6 separate regions of the Homo sapiens genome follow, and regions 2, 3, 4, 5 and 6 are each linked to region 1. Evidence: promoter capture Hi-C in human tissues and cell types (Jung and others, 2019). All regions are on one chromosome and are shown on one strand. The core of a region is centred on a gene start or on the middle of the fragment in contact, and the rest is flanking DNA. Distances in the headings are between cores, read along the strand shown.

Region 1 (3,675 bases), core at 539-3,038:
CGACTAGAGACACACACCCAAGACAACACAAAGACGGGTACTTCACAGTGTGCCACGCCATGCCCATGGCATGACCCCAGACACAGGGGCAATATGCGCACAGACACACGCACGCACACCCCATCTCATGACAAATTTGAGCCACATGAGTGGGGTTCCTTAGCTCTGTGAGTGGGAGAGTGAATATAGGAATGTGTAAGAGGGGCTGTTTTGCTGGTGCCATCCTGGGCCTGGCCTAATTACCCTGTCCAGGAGGGTAATTACTGCTGGGACACCTCCCCGAGCCTGGCCCACGGGGCCTAGCAGGAGGATGACTGAGCCCCAGGCCTGGCCCTTTAAAGAGAGATGCTGGGGAGGGGGTGGACTCCAAGCTGAACTGGGGAGGGTGTAGGGGCTTGGGGGAGGATGAGGGGGGCCCTGAGGGCCTCTGAGGCAGGATGTTAGGAGCTTATGGGGAGGCATTGGAAAAGGAGAGGCTGAGAACCCCGAACTAGTCCCTACCTTCAGGCCTGCACCCTACTTTTAGGCCTCAACACCCTCCCTACTCAGACCTTGCCAGTAGCCGGCTCCCATCCCCAGCCCTGACCTTAGCTCCTCCTCCCAGGGAATGCAGGTGTCTACTCTGGCAGGCCCTACTTTAGACATTTTGTAAAGACTTTTCTTGTTTCTTCCAGCAAGTCTGCTTCTTGCGGGAATATTTAGCCCTTCTCTGAGGCTTCCTGTCCCCGGCTCACATTCCTCAAAAACCCTGTGTGCTCCTGCTCAGAACTCAGCACCTTCTGGGAAGCCAGTGTCATCCAGGACCTCTGCATTTCCCCACCCCTTAGGCCCCAACCCTAACGCAAAGCTTCAAAGTCCAGGCCTCCATGCAGCCCTCCAACTCTGGCCCCCAGAGTTCCAGCCTCCCAAGTTCCCTGAGGCCCCTGGTCCCCCAGGCCCTCGGATCTCTGCCCTTTATACCCTCAGCCCCCAGTCTCTAAGGCCAAGACCCCACTAGCTCTCCCACCGGGCCTGGTGCCTGTCCTTCCCCTGCCCCCAGCCGTGCCCCCGGCCCTCACCCACGCGGAAGCCGGAGCCCGTGAGCGTGTCTGTGCTGTGGCCGTTCTCTCCGATGAGCGTCATGTTGGAGCCCTGCTGACAACTGTCCCGACACTGGCCCTTGAGACAGGTCCGCTTGCAGATCACCGGCGCAAAGACCACCTTGAAGCGCTCGCGGGCCAGCGCCCCGCCCCCGCCTGCGCCCCGCTCGCCGGCCGGCCCCCCCTCGACCCTGCCGCCCAGGCCCAGCAGCAGCAGCAGCAGCAGCAGCAGCAGCGCCAGCAGCCCCGCCGCCCCCGCCCCGCGCATCTCAGGGGCCAGGCCGCCAGCAGCCCCTCGGGGCCCGGGCATCCGGGGCCGCAGGACCCGGGGGAGGGGGGGCGCGCCCGGGCGGGGCGAGGGGCCCGCGCCCGAAGGGAGTAGAGGGCCGGGAGCCCCGGGAGAGGGTAGGGGGCAGCGAGGGAGGGCAGCGGGGGAAGCGGGCGGGAGGGGACCGCGGGGGCCCGGCGGGAGGCGCGGAGATGCAGACTGGACAGCGGGGAGCGCAGAAACTTCCCAGCCCCAGGACGAAGCCCAGACCAGGCCCCGAACTCAGGCAGGAGCGAGGAGGCCGGAGCAAGTTGAGGCGGAGAGGAGGAGCGAGGGAGAGGAAGGCCGGGCGGCCGGCCCGCTCCGCGCCTCCCCCTGGCCGGGCTCCTCTCCCGCGGCCGCGGGGAGGCAGGGAGCGCGCGGGGAGGGCTCAGGGAGAAGTGAGCAGTTGTTTTCCCTGGCTGGAGCGCGGCGCGGCGGCGGCGAGGGGGGCTGGGACGCTGGCCCCGGGCCAGGGACACAGTTTTTTTTTTTTTGTTGTTTAAAGCGTCGCCTCTGCCGCCTGGAGAAGCGAGGGTGTGCAGGCTGGCGGAGGCTGGGGGGTGGCGCGGGGACAGTCCCCACCCCAGATGCCCGCCCCCGCCGGAACCCGCGGCCGCGCTGGGCCCTTTCCAGAGGGCCCTCACCTGGGACCGTCTGGCCGGCCGCGGATTCCTCCGGGCGGGGCGGGGCGGGGAGGCCTGCGTAGAGCGAGATACCGAGGCTGAGGGAGAGAGGTGGCCCTGCCGGGTCACACTGACGATGGAGGCCGGGTGGAGCCGGAGCCCAGGCCTTCCAGCTCTTTCCCAGCCTCCCTTGCAAACGTGGGGGTCTCAGGGCCCCAAAGTAACTTCTCGTTAGTGCTGGTCCAATCCCCTCTGAGGAAAGGGCTAAAGGGTGGGGACAGCCTTTGGCCAGGGCTCACGGAGGTCCCAGGAGGAAGTCTGTGGGGTCCAGAAGAGGAGCAGAAAGAACAAAGCTAGAACCCAGCTTCCCTGCCAGCCCCCTCGGAATGGCTTCCTGGTGCCCACCCTGCCACCTCCCCCCTTTCCTTTCGTCTGGCCGTGCTGGCGGGGCTGGCTCTGGGCCTCAGACACTCTGGAATCGCCAAGGTCTGAGCTCAGGGCCTGGCCCCCTTCCCAGGCTAACAGCCGGGAGGACGGGGGCGCTGTCCGAGGGCCCAGGGGCTGGAGAGGGGCACAGCAGAGCCCCAGGGCAGGGGCTGGCAGCGGCTGGGGGTGGGGGTCTTCAGGTTGGCCATGGCTGGAGAGGAGCATAGTTCCAGACCAGGCTTGTCCGCTGGTCTGGAAGGAAAGGCTGCAACGTGCGGGGGCCCAGGCCTTACTGTGGGGCCTGCCAGGAGACCCCAGGGTTCCGTCTCTGACTCACAGAACTCAGCAGGAGGTGGGGACGGCTAGGGCACATCCAGGAAAAGCGCTGCCAAGTCAGGGCGGCACCAGACCCTCTCCCGGACAGCACCCGGGGCAGCAGTCTAATTGGGGAGAGGAGGTTCAGGGACTCACTTTCAGGCACACCTGTCCAAGGAACTCTGTTTTTACTTTGAGCGTAAGTTGATGTGGGTAGCTTTAGGGGGACGCTTAGTAAGTCCCCCTTACTAAGCGGTGCAGGGCTGGGAGGGACAATCACATGTCCCCAGGGATCCCTGCTGCCGGAATCCAGGATGGGGTGTGAGGGGCAAGCCCCTGCTTCTTGGGGCCCTGGTCCACACGGAGGCAGGGAATAATGCTAGGTGCCGACCACCTGCCAGGCACAGGGCTGAGCATTGTATACTCATTTTTTCCTAACACTCATCTGAACCTGTCCTGACTCTGCCTAGAGCTGGCTGTGGCTCACCATGGAGCACAGCACAGTCAAACAGTCCAGGGTTGGATTCTTACTGTCTCTAAGCCCCAGTTTCCTTGCTTGTGAGATGGGTATCTATTCACTCAACATCTATGTTCAACTACTGGTAATAAAAAACAAAAAATTAAAAAATAAATGTAAAAAATTCACTCAACAAACTGAGACTCCACCACATCCTAAGCTCTTGGCCACAAATAGAACCAGTCCTGCCTTCCTGGAGCTGCTGTACTAGGAGAGCTGGATATGTGCCAGATCAATTCACACAGAACTGTGGCTACAACAGAGGCTGGTACCGTGACAGAGAAGGGCAGGGAAGCAGGACAGGAGAGGGCTGGGACCTGGGAGACAAAGAGAGTCTTCCATCGGAAGCTGGAAGATGAGTAGGAGTGAGTCACACCTGTGGGCATCTGACCTCAGGGGAGGCTG
Region 2 (3,675 bases), core at 578-3,077, 460 kb before region 1:
TCAGGAGGCTGAGTGGGAGAATCACTTGAACCTGGGAGGTGGAGGCTGCGGTGAGCCAAGATCACGTCACTGCACTCCAGCCTAGGCAGCAGAGCAAGACTCTGTCTGAAAAAAAAAATAATAAGAAGAAGAATCCCTGACATCAAGGAAACCTCAGTAAGGTGTAGTTTCTCTTATTATTGATAGCTTTCTTTTCTGCTCCAGGGAAGAATAGGTGGTCTTGTCCCTCCCTTTCTTTCTCCCTTCCTTCCCTCCTTAACTAAGCAAAGAGAGAAGATGTATGATATTAGGGGACACAAAGATCATGTCGAGGCTTTTTTTTTCTTCTGTCCTCTTTATTCTCTAGTGCCAGACAGTGTTCCACTGTTTTCCACACTAGCTTCTGTGCTGTTTTGAGGAGATGTACTACTCAGACTTTTGTAGTAATTGTACACCCACGTGTAGTAAGTCCAGGAGCCAGATCCAAAGGGTTTACCTGCAGCCTGTGGAATGTTCTGGGAGCATCTGTGGGGTTGCATTCTGATGTCTTACTCTCGTGTCACAGTGGTGGGTGTGGTAACCTATACACATTGTTCTTTTATCTGATTTGAAGCAGATTCCATGAGTAGGCACCTTTCTGTTAGCTAATACCAGCATCAAAATGGCAAGAAATCATAGTTTCTGTGCTGGGATATTTCTCACAGGAATTTAATAAGATTACATTTTCCATTTGTTGGAATGTGTATAATAATATTTTGAGACTTAGCTCTTTTTGTACATCCCACAAAAGGAACAAACGTTTGGAAAAGTGTGAGGATAACCAGGAGCATTGATGTCTTAGAAGCTTAAGTGAGGGGCCGGGCATGGGGTTCTCACCCGTGATCCCAGCACTTTGGGAGGCTGAGGTGGGTGGATCACTTGAGGCTAGGAGTTCAAGACCAGCCTGGCCAACATGGTGAAACCCTGTCTCTACTAAAAATACAAAAATTAGCTGGGCAAGGTGGTGCATGCCTGTAGTCCAAGCTACTCATGAGGCTGAGGCAGGAGAATTGCTTGAACCCAGGAGGTGGAGGTTGCGTGAGGAAGGTGTTTCAAGACATAGATTTGATAGACTTGGGCGAGACACTCAGGAAAGTAATGTAGCATGGAGTGTGTGTTGATTGGGCAAGAGAGAGAGAAAAATGAGAAAGGAACTAGGTCCTCAGGAAGGAGGGGGGTGGAACAGAGCAGGGATGGAGGCATCGGCCTCAGCAAAGGGCCGGGAGCTCATCTATGGTAGCAGGAGGGGAAGCAGAATGTGGGCAGAGCCAGGCAGATAGTAGATGTGCAGTTTAACTAGAAACCTTCCAGAATGTATTAGGGATTTGGCTTTTATCCACAGAGAGCTAAAACAAATGAGTGATGTGCTCAGATTTCTGGTTTGAATAGATTCCTCCAGCTGCACTGGCAGGAATGGATGGGGCTGAGCACAGTGGCTCATGCCTGTAATCCCTGCACTTTGGAAGGCTGAGGTGGGAGGATCACTTGAGCCCAGGAGTTTGAGACCAGCCTGTGCAACATAGTGAGACCCGATATCTAGAAAAAAAAAAATAGCTGGGTATGGTGGCACACACTTGTTAGAATAAACCCAGCTACTTGGGGAGGCTAAGGTGGGTGGATCACATGAGCCCAGGAGCTGGAGATTGCAGTGAGCTATAATCTCACCATTGCACTCTAGCCTGGGTGACAGAGCAAGACCTAGTCTCAAAAAATAAATAAATAAATAAAAAGGCCAGGTGCGGTGGCTTATGCCTATAATCTTAGCACTCTGAGAGGCCGAGACGGGTGGATCATCTGAGGTCAGGCATTTGAGACCAGGCTGGCCAATATGGTGAAACCCCATCTCTACTAAAAATACAAAAATTAGTCAGGCATGGTGGCAGGCATCTGTAGTCCCAGCTACTCAGGAGGCTGAGGCAGGAGAATCGCTTGAACCCAGGAGGCGGAGGTTGCAGTGAGTCGAGATCGCGCCACTGCACTCCAGCCTGGGCAACAGAGCGAGACTCCGTCTCAAAAATAATAATAATAATAAATAATAATAAAAGGACAGCCCACAGAATGGGAGAAAATATTTGCAAGTTAGTTATCTAATAAAAATCTAGTGTTCAGAACATAAAAAGAACGTTTTTTAGCTCAGGGCTAAAAAGACAAATAACCCTAATTTAAAATGGGCAAAGGATTTGAATAGACACTTCTCCAGAGAAAACATACAAGTGGCCGAAAAGCACATATAAATATGCTCAGCATCATTAGGTCTTAGGGAAATGCAAATCCAAACCACAAAATGCTGCACCCAGTGTGGAAGACAGTTTGACCATTCTTCAAAACCACACACAAGATTACCATATGATCGGCAATTTTACTCCTAGGAATATACCAAAGAGAATTGAAAACATGTTCACATAAAAACATGTACACAAGTGTTCATAGCAGTGTTTTTTTTTTTTTTTTTTTTTTTGAGATGGAGTCTAGCTCTGTCACCCAGGCTAGAGTGCAGTGGTGCCATCTTGGCTCACTGTAACCTCCGCCTCCCCAGTTCAAGCGATTCTCCTGCCTCAGCCTCCTGAGTAGCTGGGATTATAGGTGTGCACCATCACACCCGCCTAATTTTTTTATTTTTATTTTTTGTATATTTACTAGAGACGGGATTCCACCTTGTTGGCCAGGCTGGTCTTGAACTCCTGACCTCAAGTGATCCGCTTGCCTCGGCTTCCCAAAGTACTGGGATTACAGGCAAGAGCCACCATGCCTGGCCAATAGCAGCACTTTTTATAATAGCCACAAGGTGGAAGCAATCCAAATGGCCATCAATTGAATGAATATAAACAAATATCCACACAGTGGAATATTATTCAGCCATAAAAATAGATATAACATACTGACACAGGCTACAACATAGATTAACCTTGGAAACATGCTAATGTTTCATATGCCTATGATTCCATTTCTGTTAAATGTATTCTGTAGCGAATAGACAAATCCATAGAGACAGAAACTAGATTAATGGTTGCCAAGTTCTAGGAGTGGGGGAATAAGGAATGACTGCCAAGGGTTACAGGGTTTCTTTAGGGGATGATGAAATGTTCTGGAATTACGTAGTGAGGTTGGTTGTACAACCTTGTGAATATATTAAACATATTAAAAACCACTGAATTGGTATGTCAATTATATCCCAATTAAAAAGAAAACCAGGCATTGAGCCAGATTTGGCCTGCAGGCTGTAGTTTGCCAACCTCTCACCTAGACATTGAGTTTCATTATGTAATAATGCATTTACTTGTGTCAAAATTAGAAAGATCTCAAACATTATACAGGGAAAAGCCTCTCCTAATTCTTTTCTCTAGGCAAAGACAAAGCAGTCTTTGACAGTACATTTCACTGAAAATTAACAGAGCCCAGGTGGGATTATGGCTCATACCTATAATCCCAACACTTTGTGAGGCAGAGGCAGGCAGATTGCTTGAGCTCAGGAGTTCGAGACCATCCTGGCCAACAGGTTATACCTGTCTCTACAAAAAATACAAAAATTAGCTGGGTGTGGTGTTGTGTCCCTGTAGTCCGAGCTGCTCAGGAAGCTGAGGTGGAAGGCTTGTACCTGGGAGGCAGAGGTTGCAGTAAGCCAAGATTGTGTCACTGCACTCCAGCCTGGGTGACAGA
Region 3 (3,675 bases), core at 775-3,274, 400 kb after region 1:
CACAGCAAGCCGGCACTGAAGCAGGGTTTGAAGCCACATTGTCAGTGGTTTCCTTGGGCATGGGGGTGGGAGCTGCAGAGTCAGGGGCCTCTATCTGTGTCTTGAAGGAGCCACAGGTCAATGGGGGTGAGAATGGAGCACTCTCCTCAGAGGCCCCCAAGGACAGAACCCACCGGCAGCCAGCCTGACAGGCACTACAACCCCAGCCTGGACCCGGAGTGCAGTCCCTGAGATAAAATTAAAGGCTTTATGGCAAACACAGTATGAGATTTCTGGTGGTGGGGGTGGTGGAAGCTACGGGTTGGAAGTTGGAGGTGGCAGGTGGGTGGGCAGCAGGCTTAGCTCTGTCCCCGCACCCCCTCCCCACCAGGAGCTTTGGCTCTTTTGGTTCCCCCCACCCAGTACACACAGCCCCTTCTCTGCTCCTGAGGAGTGGGGACATCTCAAAGAGCAAGAGCTGTGACTTCTCCACCCCATCTCCAATGTATATGTTGGGTCCTATAAATTCAAGCATGAATAAGATGAAATGACTCCTGCCTCTGAGGACGCCCAGTGAGTGGGAGAGGGGGTGGATCCTTAAAGGGGCGCATACAACATAGCCTAACACATGCTGAGTTGTGCCACACAGGGAGCCACAGACTGAGCAACCACTGGGTGAGGGGAGGGGTTTCAGGAGAGATTGGGATTGTGTGCACTGCGCTTTTTTTTTTTTTTTTTAAGACAGAGTCTCGCTCTGTCACCAGGCCGGAGTGCAATGGTGTGATCTCAACTCACTGCAACCTCTGCCTCCCAGGTTCAAGCGATTCTCCTGCCTCAGCCTCCTGAGTAGCTGGGACTACAGGTGTGCGCCACCACACCCAGCTAATTTTTGTATTTTTAGTAGAGACGGGGTTTTACCATGTAGGCCAGGATGGTCTCGATCTCTTGACCTCGTGATTCGCCTGCCTTGGCCTCCCAAAGTGCTGGGATTACAGGCGTGAGCCACCGCGCCCGGCCTGCACTGGGGTTTTAAGTCCCAATAGTTTTAAGTTAGGGCTGGTCTCCTCAAGAAAAAAACTCATACACACAGATGTGCCACATTTTGCATTCAATTTCAGGGGTTCCAGGGATACACTGACGCCCATGTGGAGCTCCTAAACAATCTTAACAGTTCACGGGGCCAGGTTTTAAAAATCCAATCCAGGGCCAGGCGCAGTGGCGCATGCCTGTAATCTCAGCACTTTGGGAGGCCAAGGCGGGTGTATAGCCTGAGCTCAGGAGTTCGAGACCAGCCTGGCCAACATAGTGACCCCACCCCCTACCCCCGCTCCCCACCAACCATCTACAAAAAAATACAAAAATTAAAGGGGCGTGGTAGCGTACTCTCGTAGTCCCAGCTACTGGGAAGGCTGAGGTGGGAGGATCACTTGAGCCCAGGAGGTCGAGGCTGCAGTGCGCTGTGATCACGCCACTGCACTCCAGCCTGAGCAACAGAGTGAGATCCTATCTCAAGGGAAAAAACAAAACAAAACAAAACAGGGAACGTGGGAAGGAAGCGTTCCCTGACGATACTGGTTATAGCGGGTCTGAAGCTGGGCTGTGGAATTGGAGATCTCGGGAAAACAACACCCGTTGGAGCCACGACCCTAGGAGTCCACTAAGCGAGCGCCCATTGTAGGAGGGAGGTGTCTACGGAAAGACCGTGAGGTAGTGAACACCCCGTTGCCGGTGAAGTGCAAGCGCAGGGAGGCCGGGGAGGAACTTAAAGCCACGAAGACACTGACTTAATGGGCTCTAAGTCCTTCCAGTTCTGGGATCCCACCTCCGGGTTAATTCCGCTTCCCTTGAGGAGCGCATGCGCAATGGGACCACTCGCTCAAAGAACCCACCCGACCCGAGACGGCGCGAATGTGCAGTCGAGCGCTGATCCCGGCCTTCCCATGAGCCTCTGGGGCAGGCTCCAAGGCGAGCGACGGAAGCAGCCGCTCTTAGTTTCCGGCAACACGACAGCGGCTGCCGAGCGACCCGGAAGTATTCCCATTTTGCGTTGTCTGGGCTCGGCGGCAGCCGGGCTCGGAGTGGACGTGCCACTATGGGGTCGTCCAAGAAGCATCGCGGAGAGAAGGAGGCGGCCGGGACGACGGCGGCGGCCGGCACCGGGGGTGCCACCGAGCAGCCGCCGCGGCACCGGGAACACAAAAAACACAAGCACCGGAGTGGCGGCAGTGGCGGTAGCGGTGGCGAACGACGGAAGCGGAGCCGGGAACGTGGGGGCGAGCGCGGGAGCGGGCGGCGCGGGGCCGAAGCTGAGGCCCGGAGCAGCACGCACGGGCGGGAGCGCAGCCAGGCAGAGCCCTCCGAGCGGCGCGTGAAGCGGGAGAAGCGCGATGACGGCTACGAGGCCGGTGAGGAGGCGGGGCCTGCGCAGGGGGCGGGTCGGGCGGGGGTCCCGGAACGCGTGGGTCTGGGTGTGCGCGCAGTGTCAGCGAAGCTCTTCAGGCCAGGAAACCCCCAAGCTGTTTACCAGCTCTATTAAATAGTCTTTCTACGGGATCCCTTGAGCCCAGGAGTTAGAGGCTGCAGTGAGCTGCGGTCCCGCCAGTGTACTCCAGCCTGGGCAACAAAGCGAGACTCTGTCTCAAAAAGAAAAAAGTCTTTCTACGGTTGTTTAGGATTAGAGGTTGACTTTCTCCACTCAGCTGCTTGAGGACAGAGGGCTTCTGTTTTCCTCAGTTGTCTGGTACAATCAGATTCTCAATAAATATGTTGAATGAGTGAATGAAGTAGTGTCAGCATATACAGAGGCAAGAAAAACCTGGTATTGGACGAATCGTGTAGGGCGCATGGTAGAGAAATGAGGGAGTAAGATAGACAGGGATGTGAACACAAAGGACCCTGTACTGTAGTCTCTGTTAAGAACTGTAGATTGTCTTGAGGATAGTAGGGAGCCATGGATGTGAGTTGAGGAGTGAGTTGCTCAGATCCGTATTTTGTAAACATCACTGGATTGAGAATTTAGTCAAAGGTAGTCAGGACTGGAGACCAGGAAACCAGGAGGGCTATAGGCCAGGGGAGGGCTGATGGTGGCCTGCACCAAGGCAGCAGCAGTGGGATTGAGAGAAGTGGACAGGTTGGAGAGGTGTTTTGGAGGAGGAATGAACAGAACTCAGCACTTGTATGAGGGTGGGAAGAAGGAATGGAGGATGACTCCTTGAATTTTGGCTTGAGCAGCCAGATAGGTAGTGGGTGTCATTTCTACTGAAATTGAGGAGTAGGGAAGAGAAGCAGATTTGGAGCGGGGGTGGGGGGAGATAGTTCACTTTTGGGGTTGTCAAGGTTGATGGTAATGGGGAAATCCAGAGTTTGGACTGGATAAAGCCATTGGGAGTCAGTATCTGGGTGGCCAGTGAAGCCCCTGAAAGACTGTGACATGAGAAGAGGGGGTCAGGACTAGAACCTGAGAAATGCCCTTATGTTAGTAGTAGGCAGAGAAAGATGTTACCAAAAAAAGGAGACAGAGTAACCAAAAAGGCAGGAAAACCTTTGTGTCATGGGAACTTTGGGAAGAGAGTATTGTTAGAAGGAGGGAGCGATCAGCAGTCCCACATACCACAGGAGATCAAGCAAAACCAGAACCGAAAAGAACCCACTAGATTTAGAAACGAGGAGGCTGGTGACCTTGGGGAGCCTGGAGAG
Region 4 (3,675 bases), core at 852-3,351, 390 kb before region 1:
CAGGAGGCTGAGGCAGGAGAATCGCTTGAACCTGGGAGGCGGAGGTTGCAGTGAGCTGAGATCGTGCCACCGCACTCTAGCCTGGGCAACAGAATGAGACACCCCTCTCAAAAATAAATAAATAAATAAATAAATAAACAAATAATATGTACTTTTATCCAGTTTCATCCATGTTGTTGAGAATGACAGAATTTTGTTCCTTTTATGGGTGAACAATATTCCATTGTGTATATATACCACATTTTCTTTACCTATTTATCCACTGATGGACACTTAGGTTGATCTCATATTTTGGCTATTGTGAATAGTACTGCAATAAATATGGGAGTGCATTTAGAAATATACTTAAATGAATCTAATGTTTTTATTACAATGTACTTTTTTTGTTTGTTTGTTTTTTGAGACAGCGAGTCTCTCTGTCGCCAGGCTACAGTGCTGTGGCATGATCTTGGCTCACTGCAACCTCTGCCTCCCGGGGTCAAGGGATTCTCCTGCCTCAGCCTCCCAAGTAGCTGGGATTACAGGCGTGCACCACCACGCCCAGCTAATTGTTGTATTTTTAGTAGAGACAGGGTTTCACTATATTGGCCAGGCTGGTCTCAAACTCCTGACCTTAGGTGATCTGCCCCCGCCTTGGCCTCTCAAAGTGCTGGGATTACAGGCGAGAGCCACCACTCTGGGCCAAAATGTACATTTTAGATAATACACTGTAGAAACTCTGGATGCCAGCCCTCTCTTAGGAGTCAATGTTGTTACTGTTTGGTTGGCCATTTCTTTTTTGGTTTAGTGACTTGACTGAATTAACTTTGTGAAGTGTATTTTCCTTGCAGTGTGTAGCCTGGAATGTCTGTTTTCTGATTTTTTTTCTTTTAAAAAAATCTAACAACTGGGCCTGGTGGCTCATGCTTGTAATCCCAGCATTTCTGGGGTTGAAGCAGGAGGATAGCTTGAGCCTAAGAGTTCAAGGTAGCAGAGAGCTATAATCATGCCATTGCACTCCAGCCTGGGTGATATAGCAATACCTTGTCTCAAAAAAAAAAAAAAATCTTTTAGCTTGGCTCTCTAGGGGTCACCCCCGGTCAGCACAACTCACTTATGGTCAAAATGACCATAAACCACTTATTGGTCAAAGTTTGTGCTTAAGTTCCAGATTTTTATCTTTACTAGTAGATACGTGTGTGGCCTGCAGACTGGCTACTGCACTTCAGTGAGTTTATGTTTTTGCTCATGTTCAGTCAGAGAATATGCTTCCCCATTTGCTGTATGTGCCTTTAGGATAATTTACAGATTTGAAATGATTGGGTTCTTAAAATAAATTTTTCTGGCCGGGTGCGGGGTGGCTCACATCTGTAATCCCAGCACTTTGGAAGGCCGAGGCAGGCGGATCACGAGGTCGGGAGTTCGAGACTAGCCTGGCCAGTATGGTGAAACCCTGTCTCTACTAAAAAAATAGAAAAATTAGCTGGATGTGGTGGCGCGTGCCTGTAATCCCAGCCACTCGGGAGGCTGAGGCAGGAGAATCACTTGAACCCACGAGTCGGATGTTGCAGTGAGCCGAGATCACGCCACTGCACTCCAGCCTGGAGACAGAGTGAGACTGCGTCTCAAAAGTAAATAAATAAATAAATTTTTCTAGTTAAATGGTTGTTTTGTTGGGGAATGGGTCTGCTGAGCTCCTTACACCACCATTTTGGAAATTGGTGGTGTATTTAAATTTTTTAAAATATCTTATTCCTATGGTTCCCTCCCCTTTGTCATATATTTGTTATATTTGTCTTTCTCCCTTTTTTCCCCCTGAAACAAGGTAACTAGTGGTTTGTCTTTTTTTTTTTTCCAAGACAGATTCTTGCTCTGTTGTCCAGGCTGGAGTGCAGTGTCCCGAACATGGCTCACTGCAACCTCTGCCTCTCAGGCTCAAGTGATCCACCATGCCCAGCTAGGTTTTTTGGTGTGTGTGTGTGTGTGTGTGTGTGTGTGTGTGTGTGTGTGTGTGTGTGTTTTGTTTTGTTTTATAGAGACAGGATCTCTCTATGTTGCCTAGGCTGGTCTTGAACTTCTGGGCTCAAGCAATTCTCCCATCTTGGCATCTCAAAGTGCTGGGATTGCAGGTGTGAGCCACTGTGCCAGGCTGTGTTTGTCTTTGTTAATAATAATAATTTTCACCGGGCATGGTGGCTCACACCTGTAAGCCAGCACTTTGGGAGGCTGAGGCAGGTGGATCACAAGGTCAACAGATCGAGACCATCCTGGCCAACATGGTGAAACCCCATCTCTACTAAAAATATAAAATATTAGCTGGGTGTGGTGGGGCCCACCTGTAGTCCCAGCTACTCGGGAGGCTGAGGCAGGAGGATCACTTGAATCCCGGAGGCTGATGTTGCAGTGAGCCGAGATTGCACCACTGCACTCCAGCCTGGCGACAGAGAGAGACTCCGTCTCAAAAATAATAATAATAATGATGTCTCATTTTATTACACTGTGCTCAGAGAATATTGTTTGTATATTTCTACTTTTTTTAAGGTACTGATGATTTCTTTGTGACCTAAGATATGATCATTTTTTGTAAATATTTTGTTTCTTTGGAAACGTGGTTTTTTTTTTTTCCAGGGGAATTTTTCTTGGTTGGTGTGTGTTATTTTGTTTTCAGATTTTTTAAAATATCAGCTCCATACGGATCTATTCATCTTCTTTCTATTCGTTTTTGTGGTATTGGATGGTTTACAAGATTCCTAGCTCAATAGCACACTGTTAGGTCAATATAGCAAAGTTCAGATGGTTTAGAAGCTTTTTATTTGTTTGTTTCGGTGTGGGGGTGGGTAGGGTTTTGTGTTCTCCCATTGCTTGGTTCTCTTCGGACCCTCAATTTCTCCCTTCTGCATTTTCCCACTTCACTTACTCAATTGCCCACGGATGCTTCTGGCCCATTTTAGCCCTTTTTTTTTTTTTTTTACCCCTCCCGCGGAATCAGTGGACTTTAACGACCTCCCCTTCCTATCGCACATACTTGTAAGCCCCTTCCCTGAGGTCTGAGCTCTGACTTCCCAGGACGTCTTCTTGGTATTTTCAGATTTTAGAATGTCGCAGTCTTTCTGATAGTTGCTCTCGACCAACCCCAGCCCGGATCGATACTCCTTTCTCCCCTCCTTCCCCAGCTTTTCTTGGCACAAAGCCTCGTGCCTGGGAGAGGCCGCAGCGCACGACGGCGTGCGGGGATATGGTCGCTTTCTTTTTATTTACATTTATCTTGAAGTTTGGACCTTCTCTGCTTTCAAGTTATGCCGACGCTGTGGTTTTGGCAGCGTTTTATTTTTCCTTTCTTGTTGTCTGGGGCTGTGTGGACAGCAAAAGTTGGCGGATGGGGACCCAGGCAGCCCCTTGGGCCTCAGGACCCGGAAGTCCCCCTGGCTGGCTTGTGACTTTTTAAGATGGAGTTCAGTTCATCAGCGTGACAGCTTTTCTTATTTTCTAACACGCGCGTTTGAGGTCATAAATTCCTCTCTAAGAATTACTAGTTGTGTCCTCCAACTTTGACAGACAATATTTTCTTTCTTTCTTTTTCTTTTTCTTTTTCTTTTTTTTTTTTTTTTTTTTTTTTTTTTTTTTTTTTGAGACGGAGTCTTGCTCTGTTACCCAGGCTGGAGCAGTGGCGCGACCTCCGCTCACTGCAACCTCCGC
Region 5 (3,675 bases), core at 465-2,964, 330 kb after region 1:
AAAAACAAATGCTAAGCTATAAACAGAAAGCTCACAGGAGATACAAAAGAAAGGCATCAAAGACCCAGAAGGGTTACTTCTTCCTGGCGTACCAAAAAGGCTTGTGGAGAAGGTGGCATCTCACCTCTTGTCTTGGATTTCAAGGGGTAGATATTGCCAAGAACAGTACCCTCCAGGTAGAAGCAACATGAGTAAAGGAAAGCCTGGGGCTGGAGAAATGTAAGCCTAGAGAGGTCTGCAGGGATGAGATAACAGGACAGTCCATAGGTCAAAGCCAAGGAGTGCAGCTGCTACCCAGGAGGCAGTGGGAGCCAATGAAAGTTTATCAGGGGTCTGATAAAATTTCAGGTCATTCTGAAAGGTCACTCTGGCCATACAGTACAGGATAGCTTGGAAGGCACAACAGGGAGCCAGGCACGGTGGCTCACGCCTGTAATGTCAGCACTTTGGGAGGCCGAGGCGGATGATCACTTGAGGCCAGGAGTTCAAGACAAGCCTGGCCAACATGGTGAAACCCTGTCTCTACTAACAATACAAAAATTAGCTGGGTGTGGGAGCGGGCGCCTGTAATCTCAGCTACTGCAGAGGCTGAGGCACAAGAATTACCTGAACCCAGGAGGCGGAGGTTGCAGTGAGCTGAGGTCGCGCCACTGCACTCCAGCTTGGGCCACAGAGCAAGACTCCATCTCGAAAAAAAAAAAAAAAAAGGAGGGGAAAGGGGAAGGGAGGAGAAGACTAGGTATGAAGCTGCTGCCACAATCAGAGGCTGGAACTGGGCCAGTGGCCAAAGGGAGGGAGTGAAGTGTAGATGGGATGCTGTGTCCGTGTGGATGCAGTGCATACCTGTCTCCGGCAGCTCTTGAGGGTGATGCCTGTTTTGGTGCTGATGTCATCCAGGTCTTTCTTGGTGCCTTTGGACAGCTTCTTGCCCAGCACCTCCCGAACAAAGGCCTCATCAAAGGCATAGTACCTTGTGGAGTCAGAGAACACCATTGACCCTCCATAAAAGACAGGAAAGGGAGTCTGGCGGGGCCTAGCAGGGCCTAGGTCTGACCCCTTCCACTCTCAACTTTCTGATGGCTGGGTAAATCCCATCCCTCCCTGGGCCTGTTTCAGCCGGCAAAATGGGTATACAGTCAGACTGGTTGATGTCTCCACCATCCCAGAGGGTGAGCACCTCTCGATGAGTAGTGCCTGCCGGGAGGGCGGAATCTGGAAGATGAGCTGGTGCAGTAGCTTGGGCGGCGCATGCAGCAGCCGCTCGAGCATGTGGAAGGTGCGGTAATGGTCCATGGTGTCGCTCTGCAGCACCGCTGCCGTGGCGCCAGTCTGCTCCAGGATTCCCGAGCGCACCCGCAGGGCCACCGCGTCGGTCACTGGAAAGCGGACGCTAGCATCAGGCCCCGCCCCGCCGACGCCAGAGGCCCTTAAGGGTTTCCATCCCAGACCCCTATAACACCTCTTATTCCCAGGCGCTCGCCCACTTCCCTAAAGGATGCCCAAGTCTTAGCCCCGCCCCCTCTCCCATTCAACACAACCGCTCCGCCGACTGGCTTCCCCACACGCCCCTCACGGACCCGAGTAACCATCGAGCCAGAGGCGATACACGTCCTCGTCGATAAGGGTCGTGTTCCCCACGAAGATGTCCAGCTCACTGGTCATGGCGACGCCCGGGGCCGCAGCGCCCCGAGCAGGAGCGAGCACTGCTCGGGACTGGCGCGCCGCCTTCAGGCCACTTCCGGGAGCGCCGAGATTCCGCTCGCGGCATCGGGACCCAGCTTATGACCACTTCCGGGACACAGCCAGTCGGGGAGGGGACGGGGCGGGAGCGGCGAGGGAAGAGAGGGGGAGGCCTGCGCGGAGGAGCACCGCTTCCTCCCGCCGGGAGGGGGAGTCCCGGGCTCCTGCGTCCTGTCTCCCTCCCCGGCCGTCTGCAGGAGCACGAAGGGAGTGCCTCCTCTTCGTCTCCTCGGTCCCCGTAACTTCTCCCCTCACTTCCTCCTGGCTTTTCTCCCACCTTCTCTGCCCTCTTCGGGACCTCCTAAGTTTGACCTGTATCCTAAACTTAGGGGTTTCACAGGGCTCTATCCTAAATCTCCGCAAAAATGGGGTATGACCCGACTTCCTCGGGCTCTTGCTGGAGACTGGTTTGTCCATCCTGCGCATGAGCACCTCTCCTGGGTTTGGGGCACCTGCTCCCACCTTGGTTTTAATCCCACCCCCAGCCCCACGAGCTACTGACGTCTCTAATTCTGCCCCTCCGAGCTCTGCCTGGAAGTCCACATCCGGAGGGGCCGCCTATCGGCCAAGTCTATCCACACTCTTCCCGTAAGCCCCTCAAAAGCTCAACATATTCTAGACAGACCTCTGCCTCTCCCCATTTGTTTCTTTCCTGCGTCCCTATCTCAGTGACAGCCCTAACATCCACCAGTTCTCATACGAGAAACCTGGGCGTTCTTCCAGACTCCTCTCTCCCCACATTCAGTTCGGCTGATTTGCCTCCCGAATATTTCTAGTATCTGTTTGTCCTCTCCACCCCCACTGATGCTGCCCCAGCCGTCTTTCTGCTTAGCTCTCCTTGCTCTTGCTCTTTGACACCGTTACTAATCTCCCTGTTTATGTCCCCTCCCCGCAGGGTCCGGCCCACACAGATCAGCCCAATCTTTTTAAATACATTTTTTTTTTCGAGACAGCGTCTCGCTCTGTCGCCCAGGCTGGAGTGCAGTGGCGCGATCTCGGCTCACTGCAACCTCCGCCTCCCGGGTTCAAGCAGTTCTCTGCCTCAGCCTCCCGAGTAGCTGAGATTACAGGCTCCTCCCACCACGCCCGGCTAATTTTTGTATTTTTAGTAGAAACGGGGTTTCACCATCTTGGCCAGTTAAAGGCATATTTTAAAATGTTACTCCCTTGCTTAACATCCTTACAAATGTTACTCTCTTGCTTAACATCCTTAGTGGCCTTTGGAAATGCTCCAACCTGGTACTGGAAGTTCTTAAGAATCTGGCTTTTACCTACCTTTGAAGCCTCGCTCTCTCTCTCTTAGCATTTTCTCGACACATCTGCTTTTCAAAAACCAAGCTATCCTCATTGTTCCTAAAGCAGCTAGGCTCTTTCGGGCACCAGTGTCTTTCACTATGTTATTCTCTCTCCCTGAAATAGCTCTTTACTTGGCAAAGTCCTATGGATCTACCAGAGCCTCTTGGATAGCATCTCTTTTGGGAACCCTCTTAAGGACCCTCAGACCATACTCCTCCCGGATTTATTTCTTGCTTAACACAGCTTGACTTCCCGGACAGACTGCGACCTCCTTGAGGATGGAATCGGTATTTTGGTTAAATTTATTTCTGCATGGGCCTTGCACATAAAAAACGTTTATTGAACAAACGAATCCTGTATGTTCCTCCCCCCAGGCAGGAAACGCTCCCTGGGAGGGAGGGTAGTCTATTGGTGAGCTAGGACGTTTGGACTCAGGGTTCCGAGGAACCAGGAGCGATCCTTAGTGGGCCGAGACTTCCGAATTTGATCAAAGGTAAAGAGGGACTGGAGAGCGGTCCATCTGACTTCTGTGGGGGATGGGCAGGAGTCAGGGGCGGACGCCTGAATCTTGTTTCTCAGAAGAGCCGAGAGGCCTAGGCTCAAGCTTGGGGCGATCCGGTACTTGGAGGTTCGAAGCTC
Region 6 (3,675 bases), core at 677-3,176, 280 kb after region 1:
CTTTCAAAAGGAATTTCCATCTCATCATGAGTAAATGCCATCACTCTTTCATCGCCAGTAACTTCTACCACTTTTTCAATGTTCTTCTCATTTATGCTCCCCATTCTTGAACCCTCCAATTTCTCCCCGCTGGTCCCTAACTTCTCCTCACTAGATCTCAGCTTCTCCGCACTTGACCCCAGCTTCTCTCCACTCAACCTCAGCTTCTCTCTGCTTGATCTCAGCTTCTCTCCACTGGTTCCCAGCTTCTCTCTGCTTGATCTCAGCTTCTCTCCACTCAACCTCAGCTTCTCATCACTTGTTCCCAGCTTCTCTCCACTCAATCTCAGCTTCTCTCTGCTTGATCTTAGCTTCTCTCCACTCAACCTCAGCTTCTCTCTGCTTGATCTTAGCTTCTCTCCACTCAACCTCAGCTTCTCATCACTGGTTCCCAGCTTCTCTCCACTCAACCTCAGCTTCTCTCTGCTTGATCTCAGCTTCTCTCCACTCAACCTCAGCTTCTCTCCACTCAACCTCAGCTTCTCATCACTGGTTCCCAGCTTCTCTCCACTCAACCTCAGCTTCTCTCTGATTGATCTCAGCATCTCTCCACTCAACCTCAGCTTCTCATCACTGGTTCCCAGCTTCTCTCCACTAGTTCCCAGCTTCTCTCCACTCCATCTCAGCTTCTCTCTACTTGATCTCAAATTCTCTCCACTTGATCTCAGCTTTCTGCCACTGGACCTCAGCTTCACTCCACTGGACCCCTGCTTCTCTCCCCTGCACACCAGCTTCTCACTAGTAGACCTCAGCTTCTCTACACTTGATCTCATCTTGTCTACACTAGACCTCAACCCCTTCTCATCCTGTCCCAGTTTATATCCATTGGATCTCAAGTCCTCTCCACTGGTCCCTACCTTCTCCCCAGCAGACCTCAACCTCTCTTCAAACCCAGACCCCTTCATAGGCCCTGCTGTCATCCCTGCACTCTTAGATTTAGCCTTTATTTCGTGTTTGACCTCTTGCTTTCCCCAAATACCCCTTGGGCTGTCTTTCCCCAAATCTGCTGAAGCTTGTGATGCACTTGCTCCACGGTATAGCAGCTTCACATCCATCCTTTCCTGACTCGGGCCTGACTTCCCTTTCAAGACCGTCTTTTCCACATCTTCCAGTCTCCAGTACTCAGACTCCAGCTTCGGCTTTCGAGTGTTTCTAGTCAGGAGCTCCACTCTCTTCCCAATTACCATGAGCCCGTTCCAAGGTCCCCAGGTTTTCTCTCGCAGCATCGGCACCCCCTTGCAGCCCCGCTCCAGTGGCGACCGTTCGCGGACCCCGGCCTCGCTTGGGGCGCCCTGGCCGCGGGACTTGTGGAGCTCCCTAGTCCTCCTAGGCTGCTTACCCCGCCGCTCCCTCCCGTCCAAGAGCGGAAACCTAAACAGACCCCCCTTCTCCACAGACATTGTCCCCTGCCCTCGCCCCTGGTCCACCACCCACATCCCCACCACTGCTTCCCATTCCCTGTCCCCACCCTGCCACCCTCACCCTCTTCCCCTTCCCCTTCCCCTTCCCCACTGCCTGGTGGGCGCCAAACTGGGCGAGTGCGCACGCGCAGGCCGCACGTGGCCGTTGGAAGGAGGGGCCCGGAACGGCGGCACGGGGTTGTTGTGGGGGTCAGTCCCCCGGGGACTGGAGGGAGACGCGGCACGCGGCCTCTGCGACCCTATGAACTCTGACCCCAGCTCCCACACTGTCGCCTATCACCGGCCCACTCTCCGTGCCGCGTGTCCCTTAAAAGCTGGGGCCTGGGACAGGAACGACAGACAATGCAGCCAATGGCGTCACGCGCGGTGCCCCGCTACCCAATCGAAAGGCGTGGCTGAGGGAAACGCGGTGGGAACCGCCCCCGACTCCAGGCGACTCCTTGGCCGGGCGGGGGAGAGCGTCCCCGTCAGCTGAGAGCATCCTCACTCGGTCAGTTCCTCGGGCGAGTTACGGGGACGACCTGCGGGAGCACGCGGGCAGTGGCCGGACGCTGAAGCCCAGGAGAGCGATGGAGACGTATGCGGAGGTTGGGAAGGAGGGCAAGGTAGAGAAAGGATGAAGACCCCCACCCCAGCCTCCCCTCACTCCATGAAAGCCCGTGATGCCCAATCATGCGGTGGTGTGTGTGTGTCTGTGTGTGTGTGGTCTGCCTCTGTGTGTTTCTGTGTGTGTCTGTGTGTGTATAGTCTGCATGTGTCTGTTTCTCTGTGTGTCTGTGTGTATGTCGATGTGCCTGCATATGTCTGTGTGTGTGTGTATCTGTGTATGTCTGTATTTGTGTCTCTGTGTGTCTGTGTGTCTGTGTGTGTCTCAGTGTGTGTCTGTGTCTTTGTGTGTCTCTGTGTATCTGTGTGTGTGTCTGTGTGTCTCCGTGTCTCTGTGTGTGTGTGTATGGCCTGTGTGTGTCTGTGTGTGTGCACGTATGCGTCCATGTGGGTGTTTGTGCGTGCATGTCTGTGTCTGTCTCTGTGTGTGTCTGTGCATGTCTGTGTGTGTGTGTCTGTGTGTCTGTGTCTGTGTATGGTCTGCGTGTGTCTTTGTGTCTGTGTCTGTCTGTGTGTATGGTCTGCATGTGTGCATGTATGCATCTGTGTGTGTCTCTGTGTGTATCTGTGTGTGCACGCATGTGCCTGTGTGTGTCTGCGCAGGTCTGTGTCTCTTTGTGTCTGAGTGTGTGTCTGTCTCTGTGTCTATGTATGGTCTGCGTGCATCTTTATGTCTGTGTGTGTGTGTCTCTGTGTGTGTGTATGGTCTGCGTGTGTCTGTGTGTGTGTGTCTGTGTATTTCTGGGTCTGTGTGTGTGTTTGCATGTGTCTGTGTGTGTCTGTATCCGTGTGTCTTTGTATATCTGTGTGTGTCTATGTCAGTGTGTCTGTGTGTGCATCTGTGTGTGTCTGTGTGCCTGTGTATGATCTGTGTATGTCGTTGTGTGTGTCTGTGTGTGTGTTTCTCTGTGCCTGTGTGTTTGTGTGTGTCTGTGTATCTGTGTGTGTTTCTATGTGTGTCTGTGTGTGCGTGTGTCTGTGTTTGTCTCGTGTGTCTGTGTGTGTGTATGTGCCCATGTGTCTCTGTGTGTATGTGTGTGTCTGCGCAAGTGAGAGAAAGGAGACTTGAGCAAGGGAGTGGGGAGCCTCTGTGGCACCTGTGTGCGGACTGATGAGGATGCCAAGGGAGGCAGGGTTTTGCCTTTGTCCTTACAGATGGAAAGGGACCCGTCACTGTCACTCTTACCCTCCCCAAGACCAACTCAGGCTGTCTTGATGGGGGTAGGTGGGTAGGGGGTGGGAGGTGAGGGCGGGGAGGAGGGCAGGATGTTAGGGATTGAGCAGAGGCTGGCATCCTCTTCTCCTTTCCCAAGGCGAGAGAATCCTGTTCAGCCCTAATGGCTTCACTTGTGTTCTGAGTTCATGTAATGATAAGACCATTTCTTCCTTTTGACTTCCTTCAGCAAAGAGTTGTCGAGCATCCACGTTGTGCCAAGGATGGTTAGAGCATGGAGAGGTGCACCCTTTTGGGAGATGGAGGCATATGCATAGTGGGCCGTGGCTGAGGATGAGGATGGAGCAGCTGTGGTCCACCTTTGAGGCCCATCTCCCTCAAGCAGCTACCAAGCAGTGTAGGTCAGAGTAGAGATACTAAGGCAGGAGGAAAGAG

The links. The method cuts DNA at HindIII sites, captures the fragments that hold promoters and counts their contacts. A contact is called where the count stands out against the background at its distance.
Region 2: a fragment that was not itself captured here is called in contact with the fragment with the promoter of LTBP3 in region 1 in 1 of the 25 tissues and cell types used here (dorsolateral prefrontal cortex).
Region 3: the fragment with the promoter of SART1 here is called in contact with the fragment with the promoter of LTBP3 in region 1 in 2 of the 25 tissues and cell types used here (bladder and spleen).
Region 4: a fragment that was not itself captured here is called in contact with the fragment with the promoter of LTBP3 in region 1 in 1 of the 25 tissues and cell types used here (pancreas).
Region 5: a contact is called between the fragment with the promoter of FIBP here and the fragment with the promoter of LTBP3 in region 1, in 1 of the 25 tissues and cell types used here (dorsolateral prefrontal cortex).
Region 6: the fragment with the promoter of SNX32 here is called in contact with the fragment with the promoter of LTBP3 in region 1 in 3 of the 25 tissues and cell types used here (dorsolateral prefrontal cortex, hippocampus and lymphoblastoid cells).

The regions. Positions count from the first base shown.
Region 1 is chr11:65,556,571-65,560,245 of GRCh38, forward strand. It overlaps LTBP3 (latent transforming growth factor beta binding protein 3), which reads right to left and starts at 1,789. Exons shown (of 28, transcript NM_001130144.3): 1 at 1,059-1,789. The coding sequence starts at 1,389. RefSeq lists silencers at 1,618-1,857, 1,908-2,067. The HindIII fragment of the contact is 15,125 bases long and covers 1-3,675 here.
Region 2 is chr11:65,098,073-65,101,747 of GRCh38, forward strand. The region is part of intron 2 of VPS51 (VPS51 subunit of GARP complex); the gene reads left to right. Among named protein-coding and RNA genes, the nearest start is that of VPS51, 3.7 kb to the left of the region's middle. The HindIII fragment of the contact is 4,540 bases long and covers 1-3,675 here.
Region 3 is chr11:65,959,710-65,963,384 of GRCh38, forward strand. SART1 (spliceosome associated factor 1, recruiter of U4/U6.U5 tri-snRNP) reads left to right here and starts at 2,025. Exons shown (of 20, transcript NM_005146.5): 1 at 2,025-2,384. The coding sequence starts at 2,072. It overlaps TSGA10IP (testis specific 10 interacting protein), which reads left to right. Exons shown (of 8, transcript NM_152762.3): 8 at 108-257. The coding sequence ends at 231. RefSeq lists an enhancer at 1,883-2,670. The HindIII fragment of the contact is 22,503 bases long and covers 1-3,675 here.
Region 4 is chr11:65,162,821-65,166,495 of GRCh38, forward strand. No RefSeq gene overlaps it. Among named protein-coding and RNA genes, the nearest start is that of SPDYC, 5.6 kb to the right of the region's middle. The HindIII fragment of the contact is 5,816 bases long and covers 1-3,675 here.
Region 5 is chr11:65,886,757-65,890,431 of GRCh38, forward strand. It overlaps FIBP (FGF1 intracellular binding protein), which reads right to left and starts at 1,715. Exons shown (of 10, transcript NM_004214.5): 1 at 1,578-1,715; 2 at 1,178-1,376; 3 at 844-970. The coding sequence starts at 1,662. RefSeq lists an enhancer at 1,616-1,685 and a silencer at 1,806-1,945. The HindIII fragment of the contact is 8,273 bases long and covers 1-3,675 here.
Region 6 is chr11:65,832,037-65,835,711 of GRCh38, forward strand. It overlaps SNX32 (sorting nexin 32), which reads left to right and starts at 1,927. Exons shown (of 13, transcript NM_152760.3): 1 at 1,927-2,065. The coding sequence starts at 2,030. LOC124902693 reads right to left here and starts at 1,763. Exons shown (of 7, transcript XM_047427980.1): 1 at 1-1,763. The coding sequence starts at 1,475. RefSeq lists silencers at 1,479-1,608, 1,782-1,994 and an enhancer at 1,919-2,008. The HindIII fragment of the contact is 13,089 bases long and covers 1-3,675 here.